Regions from separate parts of the Homo sapiens genome. Here region 1 is linked to region 2. Evidence: promoter capture Hi-C in 16 types of primary human blood cells and fetal thymus (Javierre and others, 2016). All regions are on one chromosome and are shown on one strand. The core of a region is centred on a gene start or on the middle of the fragment in contact, and the rest is flanking DNA. Distances in the headings are between cores, read along the strand shown.

Region 1 (3,029 bases), core at 355-2,854, 1.2 Mb before region 2:
TAAGTTACCTGTTTCTGAAATATGATGGTAGGGCAGGCATAGGATAATAGTTACAGACAGTCCTGTTTTCAAGAGGGAGAAAATCCTAGGTAAAAAAACAATCACTTGTCCCAAGCCATTTCTAGATTCTGCTAGAGAAATTAGGTTCCTAGATCCAAGACTAATACGATGTTGCTTTTAGCTTTTCCTTCTAAACCTGTGGCTTCCTCCTCTGAGTCCTTTCATGTATATGAAAAGTGGCAGATCTTTGCAACTGAGTAGCTGTGTAAGCTTCTTTCCTGCCAGAATTTTGGAGGTTTAATAGTCTTCTTTAATTTCGTATTTTCTCTGTTCCTTTCAATACAGACTGACAGTGTTTCTCCTGATATAAAATTCTCAAGAACCAAGTGGGTCTCCCATGTATGCCACAGGGGTTCACTCCATAATATGAGACTCTTTCAGAGATCTTTCTTAGATAATCAGTCTTCTATTTTTGCCTTCTGCTGAGATATGTGAGGGACAGTAACCTTAAGCTTCCTCGATGCTCTTTGGTTTGATTGAGGAAATCTAATCTCTTCAAAGAGCCCTTTATATTTGAGTACTTTTGATCTTTTTGAGGCATTAGCAAATTGCTGAGGTATAAAAACAGAAGGTTACTACAGCCGTGTCCTAGGCTTTTTCTTTAGATTATCTATCCCTGTTACTGAGTTTCTTTATTTTAATATCTTTTGCAGTCTGAATAAACTGAGAATTTCCAAAATCATTATGTCTTGGTTTCTTTTTGTTTAAACGGTTCTTTTCTCAAATTATCTCTTTCTCATTGCATTTTGCTATGAGAAGAAACAAGAAGCCAGGCGGCTTCTTCAACCCTTTGCTTGGAAATATCCTTACTTACGTATTCAATTTCATCATTTACAAGTTCTATTTTTCACCTGAACGTAGGACAACTTTGCTAAGTTTCTACCGCTATATAATATGGAAATTCTTTCTTCAAATTTTTAATGTGTTTTTTATTTCCTTCTAAGCCTTCACCAATAGTACTTTTTATGTCCCTATTTTTACTAAGTCTGTTCATGCTGATTCATGTATGCTCTAACGCAGTCTATGCCTTCTCTACCATGCTCTTCTCTTCACTTTCTTCTAAGTCCTTTCTAGCAGAATCATTAACAACCACATTTCTACTAACAATGTGTTCAAAACAATGTAAGTTTTTCTCGGATGACCTTCAACATTCTCTTAGCCTCACTCACTGCCGAATTCCAAAGCCACTTTGACATTTTATAGATATTTGTTACAGCAGTATATAACTCTCAGACATCAAAATTTGTATGAGTTTCCTAATGTCGCCATAACAAATTACCACACATGCATGCAGTGACTTTAAAAACACAAGCAGCTGGCAATACACTCTTCCTAGCAATGCTTCCTAAACAGAATGGACAGTATTCCCTCAAGTTTCAGCTGAAGTCCACCTGCTCCAAGGGACAGAAGCAACAGTGATTTTCTCTTCTGTCCACATTATGCTCATTAACTGCATGACTCAGTGCTATTTACCATGGGTTCTGCTGTATCGCTAGTTATTTATCTTCATAATATGTGAAGTTATCTAAAGAATACAATTAGATAGTTGAGGACAGGAACTTCTGGCATTCCTAGAATTTATGAGTGTTTTTATATGGTAGCCAGTCTGAATCCATTTGTGATGATGATGAAAAACACAACAGATAGCTGGATAGTTAATGTAGGAAACTTTGCTTTATGAAATAAAATTTTGAGAAAGCTAAATATATTTTCCTAACATTGAATCGCTTACGTGTGTTTTATGTAACAACTTATTAATCTCTAATTTTTAATAAGTACAGCTATTATTTATAAAATATTTTAGCTTATAAATAATTTTAACACACTATATCATTTGATCTCAAACATGTAAAAATACTTATTACACAAAGGAGGAACATAGAGTTACCACTTGATTTCAGTTGTGTTTGCTGACTGACGTAGGGTCAAAGAATACATTAGTAGCACTACTGAAACATAACTCTATGGTATATGATTCTAAAACCTGTGTTTTTCCCACTATGCTATATGTACATTCTTATTTCATGAATTTAGACTACATTTAATAACTGACACACGTACTATTTGTTCAACAACAGTTAAGTTCTTAAGAAGTAATGATGGTGCAAAAAGAAAATTTTAATCTTGCCTAATTCTTAATGTAATCAGTAAAAATATAATAATATTGTATCTGACAGAGAGGGCAATTATTCAAATTTTAAAAGACATTCACATCATGAGTAGTTGAGATAAATAACTATCCTGAAAAACCACTGACCATAATGAGTTATTGTTAGCAAGATTTATATTGTACTTTTGAAGTTCTTCTAGAGGCACACAATCAACCATAGGTTTTATCTAACAATAGTAAAAGTAATCCCAAAACATAAAAAGTAGTTGCTGTATTGAAAAGTATATTATAGGACAATAATTAAATGGATGATAAGGAAACCTTGTTACAGGTGATTCACACCACTTCAAAAACAGCAAAAGAAAAAATTGATATTAACATGTACCAATTATAATGCATTATTATGAAATATTTAAAATGGGGAATCCAAGATGACATAGTTTTTAACTCATCCACATACTGGAAGTTTAGAGAAACTCAGAATTTCTTATTTCTTTTTCTTTTTCCTCCATAGCATAAAAGCTTTGCTAATAAGAATAAATATATATATTGGAGTTTTAGTGTTTGATCCTGTGATCAGTTGTAACCGTGTGTCATAAAACTCTCTCACAGATTCCATCTTTCCCAAATCTTCTGATCATAACACAGATTGCCATATAGACTTCCCTTGTAAGAGAATATGCTGGCCATAAGGCAGCAAAGTGAACTTGCAGTTTCACTTCTTGTAAATTAATGCATTTGCATTGACTTCTATAAAATAATCTCTCCTGAATTTTTTTGCTTAGTCAACTTACTGTGTGCAAGCAACAGAAATTGTCTCTGGTTAACTTTTACAGCACAATTAAAAATTGTATGAAGA
Region 2 (3,241 bases), core at 176-2,675:
CTTGGGGCCCCATTAAGGCACCCGCCCTGCTATCCCCAGCGTAGCCAAAGTTAAACGTAGAAAAAGATGGAAATGTACAAATTACACCACATTCATTTTTCACTGGTGCATTAGTTAATTAGCCTGAAGAATAATTTGGGCATGGAGGGAGCTCTTACCCCTACAGTAGAAGGTAGACCTTCTAACCATAAGTCGTCGGGTTTTCCTTCTCCCTTCTTAGAATGATAATTAGAGGAAACAAAGAGGTCAGAGGAAACGAGTAGCAGTGATAATGTCACCCGCGTACTAATAAGCACCAATCTTCCTTCCGCCAAAAGTATTCTTTTTCTTCTAAAAGGAATTTCTGAGAATGAAGGTAGGTCAAGGCCTATGGCGATAAGTGGTTGCTTTAGAAGAGACAAAAACAGATATAGGAATTTATTATTAAAGTATCATTTAAGCAAAAAATAAAAGTATGAGCGCAAAATTTTAAAATCTTTCAGGGAAAAAAAATGAGCGGAATTCCCTCTAAGAGTTAACTCTTTCTCGCTCTGCCTTTTTAGAGCAAAGGAAGTTCCAGTGGGCTGGGAGTAAGGGACAGATTGTGGACCCTGACGAAAGGCGTGCTGGAGAAAGCTGGGAGCCCGCCGTTCGCACACAAAGCTGCGGAGTTCCCAAGCGGCGGGCGTTCTCGCCCCGGGGTACCGCAGCGCGCCAGGAAGCGCCCTGGGCTCTCTGGCTGTCCAGCCGCTCTGCTGGTGGCCGGGAGAAGTTAGTCACCCGGAGCCCGAATCCGGCGAGCGTCAAAGCATCAAGAGGCTGGAGAATGGGGAGGGAGGAAACCGGGTGCCGGGACGGAGGGGAGGAAGCGAAGGGAACGCGGTGGTTAGGGGACGCACGGGAAGCTGAAAAGCTCTGGCTGGTGGATGGAGTTGCACGGTCTGCGAGGCCAGAGCGCACGGGTGTGCAAAGGGGAAAAACTTGCGGCAGGAACTTCCCACCGAGGGCGAGAAAAGCAGGCAAGAAGGAGGCAGGGAGAGACTTGAAACGTCTCAATAACTTTAACCAAAACACCCGTTCAGGAGATGAGGTAAGCCAAGGTTAGCCAACCCCAATTGGTTGTGAAATATCAGACAGACCCGGAGCCGCTGTGGCTTTAAAAGTGGCCAAGGAAATCTGTTTTTCTTGCCCCATTACTTTTTATTTTCCCCTCTCCCCTCCTACCACCTCGCCGGGTCCCAGTCCCTTCCTCCTACTTCGTCTCCCTTTCCTCGATCACCCTCCTCTTTTGCCCTCCCCCATCTGATTAGGCGCGGACTGGGAAGGGTGGGAGTGGTGGGGGAAGCTCTCCCTTTAAGAGGCAGCGTGCAGTGACGAACTGTTGAAATTGCCATTGCAGGATGGCATGCCGCTATAAATTCATTGTTCCACCTCCTCGCATCTTCACAGCGCTCGCGCTGCTCTCGGCGCTCGCAGCTGCCGACTGGGGATGACGGCGGGCAGGAGGAGACCGCAGCCGAAGGGACACAGACACGCCGCTTCACCAGCTCGCCTCAGGCTGCCCCCCTGCATTTTTGTTTTAATTTTTACGGCTTTTTCCCCTCTCTTTCTTCCCTTCCTCCTGGTCCCAGCAGAGCCAAGGAAACCCACAAAATAAGAAAGGAAGTGGGCCCCGGAGCTTGGAACCTCCACAGCCGGCTTGTCCAGCGCAGCGCGGGGGCGGGAGGCTGCGCGCACCAGTTGCCAGCCCGGTGCGCGGTACCTTTCCTTACTTTTCTTGAAACAGCGATCGTGCCTGCATTTGGTGGTTTTTTGGTTTTTGTTTTTTTCCTTTTCCCGTATTTGCTGAATCTCCACTATCCGACTTTTTTTTTTTAATCTTTTCTTTCCCCCCCCCCCCACCCCACCTCTTTCTGGAGCACGAATCCAAACATTTTCCCAAGCAACAAAGAAAAGTTCGCACGCTGGCACCGCAGCCCGGACAGGCTGGCGCTGCTGCCGGGCCCCCCTCCCTCCGACACTTGACTCAATCCTGCAAGCAAGTGTGTGTGTGTCCCCATCCCCCGCCCCGTTAACTTCATAGCAAATAACAAATACCCATAAAGTCCCAGTCGCGCAGCCCCTCCCCGCGGGCAGCGCACTATGCTGCTCGGGTGGGCGTCCCTGCTGCTGTGCGCGTTCCGCCTGCCCCTGGCCGCGGTCGGCCCCGCCGCGACACCTGCCCAGGATAAAGCCGGGCAGCCTCCGACTGCTGCAGCAGCCGCCCAGCCCCGCCGGCGGCAGGGGGAGGAGGTGCAGGAGCGAGCCGAGCCTCCCGGCCACCCGCACCCCCTGGCGCAGCGGCGCAGGAGCAAGGGGCTGGTGCAGAACATCGACCAACTCTACTCCGGCGGCGGCAAGGTGGGCTACCTCGTCTACGCGGGCGGCCGGAGGTTCCTCTTGGACCTGGAGCGAGATGGTTCGGTGGGCATTGCTGGCTTCGTGCCCGCAGGAGGCGGGACGAGTGCGCCCTGGCGCCACCGGAGCCACTGCTTCTATCGGGGCACAGTGGACGGTAGTCCCCGCTCTCTGGCTGTCTTTGACCTCTGTGGGGGTCTCGACGGCTTCTTCGCGGTCAAGCACGCGCGCTACACCCTAAAGCCACTGCTGCGCGGACCCTGGGCGGAGGAAGAAAAGGGGCGCGTGTACGGGGATGGGTCCGCACGGATCCTGCACGTCTACACCCGCGAGGGCTTCAGCTTCGAGGCCCTGCCGCCGCGCGCCAGCTGCGAAACCCCCGCGTCCACACCGGAGGCCCACGAGCATGCTCCGGCGCACAGCAACCCGAGCGGACGCGCAGCACTGGCCTCGCAGCTCTTGGACCAGTCCGCTCTCTCGCCCGCTGGGGGCTCAGGACCGCAGACGTGGTGGCGGCGGCGGCGCCGCTCCATCTCCCGGGCCCGCCAGGTGGAGCTGCTTCTGGTGGCTGACGCGTCCATGGCGCGGTTGTATGGCCGGGGCCTGCAGCATTACCTGCTGACCCTGGCCTCCATCGCCAATAGGCTGTACAGCCATGCTAGCATCGAGAACCACATCCGCCTGGCCGTGGTGAAGGTGGTGGTGCTAGGCGACAAGGACAAGAGCCTGGAAGTGAGCAAGAACGCTGCCACCACACTCAAGAACTTTTGCAAGTGGCAGCACCAACACAACCAGCTGGGAGATGACCATGAGGAGCACTACGATGCAGCTATCCTGTTTACTCGGGAGGTAGGTCCAGCCGGGA

What was found. The method cuts DNA at HindIII sites, captures the fragments that hold promoters and counts their contacts. A CHiCAGO score of 5 or more calls a contact.
Region 1: a fragment that was not itself captured here is called in contact with the fragment with the promoter of ADAMTS5 in region 2 in 3 of 17 cell types (M2 macrophages, M0 macrophages and M1 macrophages); the score reaches 8.1 in M2 macrophages.

The regions. Positions count from the first base shown.
Region 1 is chr21:28,136,911-28,139,939 of GRCh38, reverse strand. LINC01697 (long intergenic non-protein coding RNA 1697) reads right to left here. Exons shown (of 5, transcript NR_126010.1): 5 at 2,331-3,029. The region is part of intron 5 of LINC01695 (long intergenic non-protein coding RNA 1695); the gene reads left to right. Among named protein-coding and RNA genes, the nearest start is that of LINC01697, 90 kb to the right of the region's middle. The HindIII fragment of the contact is 2,180 bases long and covers 515-2,694 here.
Region 2 is chr21:26,965,272-26,968,512 of GRCh38, reverse strand. It overlaps ADAMTS5 (ADAM metallopeptidase with thrombospondin type 1 motif 5), which reads left to right and starts at 1,425. Exons shown (of 8, transcript NM_007038.5): 1 at 1,425-3,225. The coding sequence starts at 2,122. It overlaps LOC124905050, which reads left to right. Exons shown (of 3, transcript XM_047441063.1): 2 at 543-1,069; 3 at 1,429-1,857. The coding sequence ends at 1,857. The HindIII fragment of the contact is 6,499 bases long and covers 1-3,241 here.